Linked DNA regions of Homo sapiens: region 2 is linked to region 1. Evidence: promoter capture Hi-C in 16 types of primary human blood cells and fetal thymus (Javierre and others, 2016). All regions are on one chromosome and are shown on one strand. The core of a region is centred on a gene start or on the middle of the fragment in contact, and the rest is flanking DNA. Distances in the headings are between cores, read along the strand shown.

Region 1 (6,419 bases), core at 3,639-6,138:
GCTCTAATGCTTTAATCTTTGAGTATGTAATAAAAAATTGTTTAATAACTGGAAGATTGGAGCAATAGGAGGAAGAATGATATGAAAGGAAAGAACTAAATCCTCATCTTCCATGGGAATAAATCAATAAACAATATATACAATTATTTTTTTCTGTCCAGTGAATGCAATACAGTGTTTTGGGTTTTTTTAGACGATCTTATTCTGTTACCCAGGCTGGAGTGGAGTGGTGCCATCGTAGCTCACTACAGCCTCGAACGCCTGGGCTCAAGTAATCCTCCCACCTTGGCCTCCCAAAGTGTTGGGATTACAGGCATGAGCCACAGCACTCAGCCTACAACTGTTAAATGTAGAAACCAGAGTGTAAACATGTTTCTCAGAAGCAAGGGTACAAAGAGCTAAAGAACAGCTATGAGGCTGGGTGTGGTGGTGAGCGCCTATAGTTTGTGCTACTCTGGAGGCTGAGTCAGTAGGATTGCTTGAGCCAAGTTAGAGGCTGTAGTGTGCCACAACAGCCACTGTGAATAGCCACAGCACTCCAGTCTGGGCAACATAGTGAGATCGTGTCTCAAAAAAAAAAAAGAAACAGCTATGAGTTGAAAGAGACTGTGAGGCTGTTTATAAAGAACAGGACTCAAGGGTCTGGAAGGACAGAACAGGGAAGTGCGTCGTTTTTATATAAACTATTTAACTTTTAAGACTATTATATCTGAAACTTTGAAAAATAATTTTTAAAATTTGGATAGCAGCCAGGTGCAGTGGCTCATGCCTATAATTACAGCATTTTGAGAGACCAAGTTGGGAGGATTGCTTGTACTCAGGAATTCAAGACCAGCCTGGGCAACATATGCTACAAAAATTTTAAAAACTAGCAGGGCATGGTGATATACACCTGTAGTCCCAGCTACTCAGGAGGCTGAGGCAGGAGGCTCACTTGAACCTGGGAGGTTGAGATTTCAGTGAGCCATGATTGCGCAACTGTGCTCCAGCCTGGTTGACAGAGTGAGACCCTGTCTTAAATAAATAAATTAATTTAATTAAATAAAATTTGGATGGTACTATTTAACTTAAAAACAGCAATCTTACCTCAGAGTTTACCTAAAGATACATATACGCAAAATAAGAATAAAATATCAGTTTGTCTTCTGGTATTCTCCCTAGATGCCACTCCCCACCTCCCTTAAAAAATAACTATGTACCTTTTCATGAACTTAAATAACTACCTATATTTTCACAGCTGTTTATCTAGGCTTAATTGTTGACAACAGCATGAAAAGAAAAACTGGTTCTGTTTGTTACAAAAAAAATATTAAATGATGCCATGTGAGCATTTGAAACGCATACCAATAAAAACTACCACAGCAAGTACAGGTTTATCCAAGTAAAGGTTTTGAAAAATGGTGAAGGGCCATTATTTGAGAAGTGTATGCCATGATTTTTGGCTCTCCTATGGCTCACAGGCCTATAAATGATTCATTCATTTAATTTATTCATATAACACAGCTTTATACATTTCCTTTTTACATTTGAGGTACTATGCTAAATTCTAAATTTCCTGAAATCTGTATTCCTTTTTTTTTTTTTTTTTGAGATGGAGTTACACTCTTGCTGCCCAGGCTAAAGTGCAATAGCGCAATCTCGGCTCACTGCAACCTCTGCCTCCCAGGTTCAAGCGATTCTCCTGCCTCAGGCTACCAAGTAGCTGGGATTGTGGGCGTGTGCCACCACACCCAGCTAATTTTGTATTTTTAGTAGGGACAGGGTTTCTCCATGTTGGTCAGGCTGGTCTTGAACTCCCGACTGCAGGTGATCTGCCTGCCTCAGCTTCCCAAAGTGCTGAGGTGACAGGCCGTGAGCCACTGCGCCCGGCCTTGAAATCTGTATTATTCTTATTTATATTTCATGGCCTAAAATACCGTAAAATGCTTAAACCAGCAGCATATATTTTAATCTATTAACATCTCCAATTCTTTTTTAGGCAGAAAATTCAAATTTAAGAACAGGATTTATTGTTTATGGATTGACATGGAGATCAAAAGCACACACAACTCCTAAATTCAACATTCTGAAAAAGCTCTCCATTATCTTTTCTAATTTTCCTGTTGTCCAAGAGTAGGATGTGGGTGGAGGATTACCTAGGTGCCGAGGCAAGAGACTGAAGGCACAAACTGTTTCAGTATAATAAAGAAAATAGTTAGAATAAGAATAGTCATAATACAAATTAGATATAGAGATGATCATGGACAATTATCAATCATTATTATAAACATGATTAATCATTAGCTTTTAATATTACTCTTTGTTGCATTACTAATATAACCTAGGAATAACCAGCGGGTATAGGGTCAGGTGCTGAAGGGACATTGTGAGAAGTGACCTAGAAGACAAGAGGTGAGCCTTCGGTCACGCCCGCGTAAGGGCCGCTTGAGGGCTCCTTGGTCAAGCGGTAACGCCAGTGTCTGGGAAGGCACCCGTTACTTAGCAGACCGTGAAAGGGAGTCTCCTTTCCTTGGAGGAGTCAGGGAACACTGCTCCACCAGCTTCTTGTGGAAGGCTGGATATTATCCAGGCCTGCCTGCAGTCCTGGGGCCTAAATCCCTCCCTGTGGTGCTGTGCTTCAATGGTCACGTTCCTTGTCCACTTTCATGCTCCTCCCATACTCCTGGTTCCTCTTTGAAGCTCGTAGTAGATAGCGGTAGAAGAAACAGTGAAAGTCTTAAAGTCTTTGATCTTTCTTGTAAGTGCAGAGAAGAAAATGCTGACGTATGCTGCCTTCTCTCTCTGCTTCAGCTACCTAAAAGAGAAGGCCCCCGCCATCCTGTAATCACGTGACTTGCTTCATCTTGTCAATCACTTAAAAGATTCACCCTCCTTACCCTGCCCCCTTGTCTTGTATGCAATAAATATCAGCGAGCCCAGCCGTTCGGGGCCACTACCGGTCTCCGCATCTTTACGGTAGCGGTCCGCCGGGCCTAGCTGTTTTCTCTTTATCTCTCTGTCTTGTGTCTTTATTTATTACAATCTCTCGTCTCTGAACACGGGGAGAACACCCGCTAAGCCCCGTAAGGCTGGACCCTACAGTTGGACATATACCATAGTATCATGTCAATGCGGATCACAAGGTCAGAAGTTAGAGACCAGCCTGGCCAAGGTAGTGAAACCTCGTCTTTACTAAAAATACAAAAAAAATTAGCTGGACCTGGTGGCGTGCGCCTGTAGTCCCAGCTACTTGGGAGGCTGAGGCAGGAGAATCACTTGAACCCGGGAGGTGGAGGTTGCAATGAGCTGAGATGGCGCCACTGTACTATAGCCTGGGTGACAAAGCGAGACTGCGTCTCAAGTGGGAAAAAAAAAAAAAAAAAAAAAAAAAGGGGCACAGTCTTCTGCATTCTCAGGTAAACAAGAATATAAGTATCCAACATTCATGTATTATATGTAATACATATTATGTGTGGCCGGGCATGGTGGCTCACGCCTGTAATCCTAGCACTTTGGGGGCCGAGGTGGGCAGATCACGAGGTCAGGAGATCAAGACCATCCTGGCTAACACGGTGAAACCCCGTCTCTACTAAAAATACAAAAAGTTAGCTGGGCGTGGTGGCGGGCGCCTGTAGTCCCAGCTACTCAGGAGGCTGAGGCAGGAGAATGGCGTGAACCCGGGAGGCGGAGCTTGCAGTGAGCCGAGATCGCGCCACTGCACGCCAGCCTGGGCGACAGAGCAAGACTCCGTCTCAAAAACAACAACAACAACAAATTAGCCAGGCATGGTGGCGGGCGCCTATAGTCCCAGCTACTCGGGAGGCTGAGGCAGGAGAATCGCTTGAACCCGGGAGGCGGAGGTTGCAGTGAGCCAAGATCGTGCCACTGCACTCCAGCCTGGGCGACAGAGAGAGACTCCGTTTCAAAAAAAAAAAAAAACAAAAGCAAAAACAAAAACAAAAAAACATATAAGTATGTATTAAAAAATAGCAATAAGAAAAAAAAAGACAGTAAGCTCCATGAAGATATAAGCTCCGTGATCCACTATGGCATCTCCAGTGACAGACAGCATCCAGCAACTTACTTGGTACTAAAATGTATTAAAGGAATGAATGAAATACTACTTTGCAATCTTGTCTGCCTTCTCTAACCAACAGAGGTGCAAAAATATCACATTCTAATTATGTATCAGGTATTTATATGTCTGCGAAGGAAGACCTGTCTCGTTAATTTTTTATCCCCAACAGCCTAGAAAATGTTGAAAGAAAAAAGATGGGGGAAAAAGCCCTTTTCTGTAACAAGTTAGAATAGGACCCACATACATTTTGTTACTAACAAAACGTCCAGCTTGTCTTTCTTCTTTGAAAACTGCATGGCCTTAAGAGGAGTCCATTCTAATTAGGAAAAAAGTCACCTTTTCAGAAGCAGGCGCTTCCCACTCCATGCAAAGTGAAGCCAAGTTAGCAAAACCGCAAAGACTTGGCTAATTCAAATACAAGCTAATTTATTATTATTGGCGCAAATTAGCCACTTTCTTTTGCTACGCATGTCAATGTCCACAATCATACCGACCCTTTCCTGTAGGGCGAATGTCTCACCAGTAGCTGGTGAGAAGCACAGCTCTTCTCAGCCAAAACCGACAGAGACTGGAATTTGTGCAGTGCAGTAATCCAAAGCCGTCGAGTAGATATGCCTGCTTTAAAATCTGCATCTCGTAAGAAATGCCTTAATTTTCCATATTAGGAGCTGAGAAACCAAGTCCCCTGAGCCCTTCAGGGACAAGTTCTTTTCCAAATACTACAACCACCTCCAACCACCCAACAATGCCTCAGGCCGAGGGTGGGCCACACGCGACCCAGCGCTAAAGGGTCACAGCCAAGCTGTCCGCCTCCTGCCTTCCCTTTAAAGAAGCCGCACACAAGGGAGCTGCCCGGGAGTTCAACTTCCGGCCACATAGTGAGAGGATGTTTTCCTACTGGAGCTGAGCCGCGGGGGCGCGCCCCCCGGCCGCGCCCTCCTAGCCACGCCCTCCACGCCCGGCCTTCCGAGAGCGAGCTCGGTCGGACGCACGGAAAGGGCTGGGCCACGTGGGCGGCTGCTGAGTGGTTCGCCTTCGCCTCTCAGCGCGCAGTCAGGCGGAGGCAAGCTCAGAGCGCACGGACAGAGCGGTAGCGCGCGCCCGCGCGCGTTCTTAGTACTCTCCCCGGTGACGTGCCTGACCGAGGCCGCGCCAGGGCGCTGTTGCTGCCAATACAGCTGTCATGGCGTCCAAGGCGCTGGCTGCGGAGAAGTGGCCGCGGTCTCCATAGAGCTGGGGGCGGGCGGCCCGGTATGGAGAGCAGCCCCGAGAGCCTGCAGCCGCTAGAACACGGGGTGGCGGCCGGGCCAGCGTCAGGGACAGGTTCTTCGCAGGAAGGGCTACAGGAGACCAGGCTCGCCGCTGGTGATGGTCCTGGGGTATGGGCGGCGGAGACCAGCGGCGGGAATGGGCTGGGGGCGGCGGCCGCCAGGAGGAGCCTCCCGGACTCGGCTTCTCCCGCGGGCTCTCCTGAGGTTCCCGGACCCTGCAGCTCCTCCGCGGGTTTGGACTTGAAGGACAGTGGTTTGGAGAGTCCTGCTGCCGCCGAGGCGCCTCTGAGAGGGCAGTACAAGGTGACCGCCTCCCCGGAGACAGCCGTGGCCGGAGTGGGTCATGAGTTGGGTACCGCCGGAGACGCGGGAGCCCGCCCGGATCTCGCCGGCACCTGCCAAGCAGAACTGACCGCCGCCGGCTCCGAAGAGCCCAGCAGCGCCGGCGGCCTCAGCAGCAGTTGCAGCGACCCGAGCCCTCCTGGGGAATCTCCGAGCCTGGACTCTCTGGAGTCGTTCTCTAACCTGCATTCTTTTCCCAGTAGCTGCGAGTTCAATAGTGAGGAGGGAGCGGAGAACAGGGTCCCTGAGGAGGAGGAGGGCGCGGCGGTGTTGCCCGGGGCTGTTCCTCTGTGCAAGGAGGAGGAGGGGGAGGAGACCGCTCAGGTGCTGGCGGCCTCCAAGGAACGCTTCCCGGGACAATCTGTGTATCACATCAAGTGGATCCAGTGGAAGGAAGAGAACACACCCATCATCACCCAGAATGAGAACGGACCCTGCCCCTTGCTGGCCATCCTCAATGTTTTGCTCCTGGCCTGGAAGGTACATTCTGCAGCTTTCTACTTCCTACAGCTTTTGGGGTGGAGGAAAACGGGGTGAGGGAGCTGCTGCATGTCAGGTGATGGCTTCCTTTCTTTCCTCATTCATCAGTCCCCTTCTTACATGAAATTCATTCCAAGACTTCCATGTTGAAGGAATATTCCTTTATACATATATCGAAAAGAATTGCCCCTAACCTCAGTCTTCTCTTGTAGTGTTTAAGAGTTCAACATTCAATTGTGGTTGATACACTTAGAAACAAGAAGGACTTA
Region 2 (5,853 bases), core at 561-3,060, 130 kb before region 1:
TGAAATGCCTCAAAAGATGTTCTTCACAAATAGAGGAGTACTGAAGGTTTCAGGACTAACTGTAGAGATGAATTCCAAAGCCAGCCTCATTCAACGACCAAGCCGAACTGAGACTATGTTCATTCAGTTAACTGATAAGACCTATAGGTAGAAACATGAAGACTCAAAAGAAGGGCAAAGACAGAACTACAATGAAAAAACAGCCAGAAGCAAAATGATTTTCCTGAATTTACAGACAGAAAACACACAAGAATCCTGTCTCCCAGCTCTCAGTCCATTGCTCTTCCCATTATGCCATGACAATTACCCAAAATTATATCAAAATATTATAGCTTAGTATGATTTTATAACTCTTCTCTCTCAAGAAAGAAGAAAACAGATTCCACCAATGTATAACCTCTACTAAGAAGCAGAAAACATTTCAGCTTCTTATTTGAAACATCAAAGAAAAGGCTAAGATGTTACTGTGTGTGTGTGTGTAGATTGTATTTATATATATATAAAATACCTAGTAATATAATTACCAAATGAACTGAATCTGGAGTCAAAAGGTCCAGATTCCAGATCCTGTTCCACCTCTAGCTGTGTGGTATTAGGTTGGTCACAAAGTTTCTGAACACAAGTTTCCTCATCTGTAGAAGGGAGACAATAATACCTACACCTCATAAGGGTATTGAAATAATCAAGAATAAATATATAACATTCCTTGTTTTAAAAAAAAAAATGTCAAATATGAAACTCAGTTCAGCTAGTAGTAAGTGCAAAGACAAGTGAAGAAGCTGGCAGTGTTATTTCAAGGCAGGTAACCTACACTCGAAAAAGTTGGACCAAAGGAACAAAGATCCCTTTTCTTTCCCACTATGGCCTCTATTCTTCTGTGCCTGCCTAGCCCCTCCCCAGCAGCTCTTAGAAGATGGCTTCCAAGAGCTGAAGTTGGGGGTTTAACATAGAGTAATGGAAGCGGACATCTAATGTCTGAAAGAAAGAGAGATAATAATATAAAAGGAAAAAAAGCAGAGGGGGGGAAAATGGGGATACAAAGTTGACAACGGGAGTCTTCGTTTTCTATTCTGGTTGCCAATCACCATATTTTTGCTCATGAAGTACACAGGAAGTATCTTGTTTCACCTTTAAGAAGACCCTAATAATGAAAATAGAGGCGGGCGGATCACGAGGTCAGGAGATTGAGACCATCCTGGCTAACACGGTGAAACCCCATCTCCACTAAAAATATAAAAAATTAGCCACGCATGGTGGCGGGCGCCTGTAGACCCAGCTACTCGGGAGGCTGAGGCAGGAGAATGGCGTGAACCCGGGAGGTGGAGGTTGCAGTGAGCGGAGATCGCGCCACTGCACTCCAGCCTGGGTGACAGAGCAACACTCTGTCTCAAAAAAAAAAAAAAAAAAAAAGAAAATACAAGTAACATGCCCCACCATTTTCAATCCAGAACTCTCCCCACCTCAGGAAAATGAGCAGCATCACAAATGGTGATCCAAATATCACAAACAATGAGACATAAACACTGAGTGTCCCAAAAACCCATAACTACAGTTTAATCATAAGGAAAACATCAGACAGATTCCAAATAGGGGAGCATTCTAAAATATACCTCATCAGTACTCCTCAAAACTGTCAGGGGAGGGAGGAAGGAGATTTGAGAATACCTAATCTGTTCAATTTTTTGTAAATCTAAAACTGCTCTAAAAAATAAAGCTTACTTTTTACAACAAAATGAGTAGCTGAATCTAAAGACATGAGAATATCTGAAGATTTAGGAAGAATTTTACCAAATTCCTACAGAATCATTACATCCTTAAGTACAATAGTCTGTAACTGAAAATGCAAAATGGCAGAAAGTTTTTAGTTTAAGATCACATACTCACTTACCCAGGAGGCATTTTGTGAGCAAGCTTTAGAGACAAAAATATTAATGTGGTGCTTCTCAAACTTCACTGTGCATCAGAATCACTTTGAGAACTTGTTCAAACTAAGACTGTTGGGCTCCACATCTATAGTTTCTGATTCAAGAGACCGGGGTAGTGCCTATGAACTTATATTTCTAACAAGTTCCTAGGTGATGCTGATGGTGCTAGTCCATGGATCACACTTGGAGAACCACTTGTTTGAGACTTCACAGCTACTGTATTAATGGATAATATACAAATAAAATCATATGAGACCCTGAGTTTTTAGTAGTACTTACTAATGAATAGGGAGAAGAAATCACAGACTTTGTGATAAAATCATCCAACCATTGAAGGGGCAAAGAGGTTTCAGAGTATGAAAGTTTCGAACATGAAAAATCATAGGAAAGAGTGAGCTGTACAATCTGCTGACTAATCCAAGTAACAAAAAAGTACAGATTATCATAAAAGACAAATATCCAAAAGTACTGCACTATTAATATGCAGCCCATGACATAAACTTATACTTTAAAATGACATCATGAAATTGAGTACATTTTAAAACATAGAAGAAAAACAAAAGAAGCTATGGAAATTGTAAAAGTATTGACTTAAGATACTGACTTTTAAAAAAGGAGAAAGAAATACAAAGGAAAATACAGCACTACTTAAGATCTTAAAATATACAAAACAAATCAAAGAATAAACTAATAAGAATAGGAATACAAAAGCTTCTCTTACTCTGGATAAAGCAGAAGTTTTTTTTAAAAAAAAAAACATAGAAATGAAGTATCAGAAGGAGAATCTGTTGTATATAGCTCAGAAGATAATATACTATTGATTAAACTCTACTTGGCACAATTTATATTCAAAGAGCCTGGGGTCCTTTCCACTCATCTTTCAATTAATAAATTTGGATTTCTAAACTAGGCAACTGAACTTATACAGTAAATCACAGCTCCTCCACAACACTCCACCCCCACTGTAATGGGAAGGGTATTGTCCCATCCCAACATTATCAATGACAATAGCTTTCATGGCTAAGGCAGAGACTCGGCAGAGTATGAACCCAGGTGATGATGTCAATGGAGTTGTGGGTACCAGGGGCTTCCTGCCTACATCTCTTTCATGCAGTGCTTCCCTTTTATTAAAATAAAGGCTAGAAATAAAATAATAAAGGCAGGCTTTCTTTTCCTTTTACCTGCCACTCTTGATGAGGATTTCTCTCCTCTTTATCTCACTACAGAAGAGAGAGCAAGACACAGTTTTCCTCTTTTGATTCTAAGTACCCTATTTTGGAGGGGAAAAAAGTTAATAAATATATAACATTTATTAACTTTTGTGGAAAAATTAAATTTCCCTTTGGGTTTCAGAATTACCACTTTTTCTCATAAAATTATTTATTTCATTTGGTCCATTCAAATGTCAGGAATCAGGATATTTCCCTGTATGCGTTTCAAAATAAAAAGCTCCTTCATCTATTGTGGCTTTTACATTATGCTTATGAGTCTTGCCTAACTCAAGTAGCATAAATTAGGATATTATACAGGCATCACTTTCTCCTATACTTTGAAAATTCAACATTCTCTGAAAACTCCCCTTTGTTTCAAGTAGTAAGTTAAGACATATTTAATATGATAAACTACCTGAAGGTGCTCCAACCCAAGCCAGACCAAGTACGCCATCATCAAAATCTCGGTCTGTGAAGACATAGGCCAAACAGTAGTCATCATGATTCTGCTCAGAATTCAATTCCAGAAACTTCTCCACACCAATATTTGGGAAACGGAAAGGATTTGTAGGGTCCTTCTCATCAGCAGTTGTATTGATCTAAAATCCAAAACAATAATTTAGTAAGTAATTAATGTTAGCAGAGCTTTAGTGTGAATGTCTGCTCACCTTCTTCTGCGTACACCTGGACAATATGCTCCCATGGAAATCAGGCCTGAATTAAGGCTTCTAAGGTTGTTCCCACTGCCCACATCCCTGAGCTGATCACAGAAGGCAAAACAATAACAACAAATAAAAAAGAAAGGCTAGGTAGGGAAATTAAAATTGAAGATGTTAAATTTCTGAGCAAGTATTCACCAGATTCCTGAACACTGAACACTTGGGAAGAAAAAACAAGTTTTGCTTTCAAAACCTTTAGTAAAGGAAGTATAGTTTTTCAAATTTAATTCTCTGAACAAGTCTCCTTTAGTCCTAATCTCCTACATATGGTGACACTTACAAGGATATAAAACCCTGTATTTTAACTAATTACTAGAATATAAAATAGGTATCAAACCCAAGACTGTCAGTTCAGCAGACAAATCATTTTCCTGGTTTTCCTTGCCTAGAGAGTCACATGAGCCAAGCCAAACTAACTGCAAATTTATTTTTTTTTCCTGAATGTGGGCAAGAATTTTGCTAATTTAAACTCACTTCTTTTACTCTTTGAAGCTGAGTTCTTCCAGAATGTTTCTTTTGATACTTAGCTACTATACTCCTACCACAGGTTCCTCCTTCAGAATCTGAATAATCTGTTCTAATACCAGACTTCTATTAAACAAAAGCTTTTATTTATTAGCCCCTGCATCCTTTCAGAGACCTGTGTGTCTCCTCTGAAGTCCTAGAACGATTTGGCTTTCCCCAGGTAAGCCAAGGAATTACAATATGAAAGTAAATGTTTTTACCGAAAGGCAAACCTCAGTCTGTTTGAAAATGTTGGCAGTAAGAGGATGACATAATGGTTGATACAACAAGAGCTACAGGTCTCTTTATGACCTGTACTCTCCAGTAAAACCAAGAGGCTCAGAAGCAGGGAGGCAAAAACACCATTGAGGGCAACTGCTTAAGAACAGATTTCAGAACATCTGGTTTATCTATTAACAATTAACGAAAAACAATCAGTTACGGCCATTTAACACTAAAACAATTCAAAAGCAAGCACACTGTATGTTACAGATAGTCCATGCTTGAAGACATGCTGTAGATGGCTTTCTCCCACTAAATATAAAAATGAAATTTCCTAGTAATTCTCTAATACTGGCTATAAATAAAAATTGCATGTAAGGCCCGTCACAGTGGCTCACGCCTGTAATCCCAGCACTTTGGGAGGCCGAGGCGGGTGATCACCTGAGGTCAGGAGTTCAAGACCAGCCTGGCCAACATGGTGAAACCCTGTATCTACAAAAATACAAAAATTAGCCGGGCATGACAGTGGACGCCTGTAATCCCAGCTACTCGGGAGGCTGAGGTGGGAGAATCGCTTGAAACTGGAAGGCAGAGGCTGCAGTGAGCCGAGATTGCGCCACTGAACTCCAGCCTGGGCGACAGAGTGAGACTCCTTCTCAAAAAAAAAAAACAAATTGCATTTAAATTTTAATTACCTATATTTAAATGGATTATTAATATAGCTGACAGAAATTTTAAATTAATAGGTTATGAACAATCTTCAACAGATAAAACTTTACTAAAGTTTTAATAAGAGGTAAGGTCTAAAAACAACCAACTACCACATCATTTACTTATATACATGCATTTCTTCATAATACATATCATTTTCCTCAAAGGTGCGTCACTAAAATGTGTTCAGGTGCTCTCTACTTTTCATTACTTGCATTTTATTGCTCTGCCTACTAAACAGCAACACTTATACCTCTTATCACTGTTACTTGCTCATTTAAGGATTTATATTGTTCACAGAATACATGAAAGCAATTAATTATGAACAATTCTTATACTGTAAATCAATAAATCATATTTCACCTTAAGAAAATCCAATTTAAGATTTAATCACACTGCTTCTAAATTTAAGGACTACCTACAGCTATGTGGCTGAATGTATATACTAAACTTCTCTAGTATAGACATTTTATCCAACCACATTTGAAGAAAAATAGGAAAGCATAAATATTAAGGAACCCTGTGGCAAATACTTTTGTGAAAGGATGATTTTTTTTTAAG

Evidence for each region. Contacts are between HindIII fragments. The CHiCAGO score rates a contact against its expected background, and 5 or more counts as called.
Region 2: a contact is called between a fragment that was not itself captured here and the fragment with the promoter of MINDY2-DT in region 1, in 1 of 17 cell types (naive CD4 T cells). The highest score is 5.1, in naive CD4 T cells.

Annotation. Positions count from the first base shown.
Region 1 is chr15:58,766,086-58,772,504 of GRCh38, forward strand. It overlaps MINDY2-DT (MINDY2 divergent transcript), which reads right to left and starts at 4,889. Exons shown (of 2, transcript NR_135474.1): 1 at 4,302-4,889; 2 at 1,987-2,794. MINDY2 (MINDY lysine 48 deubiquitinase 2) reads left to right here and starts at 5,217. Exons shown (of 9, transcript NM_001040450.3): 1 at 5,217-6,150. The coding sequence starts at 5,311. RefSeq lists an enhancer at 4,154-5,079 and a silencer at 4,892-5,171. The HindIII fragment of the contact is 12,290 bases long and covers 1-6,419 here.
Region 2 is chr15:58,637,226-58,643,078 of GRCh38, forward strand. It overlaps ADAM10 (ADAM metallopeptidase domain 10), which reads right to left. Exons shown (of 16, transcript NM_001110.4): 8 at 3,552-3,735. Among named protein-coding and RNA genes, the nearest start is that of ADAM10, 110 kb to the right of the region's middle. The HindIII fragment of the contact is 197 bases long and covers 1,713-1,909 here.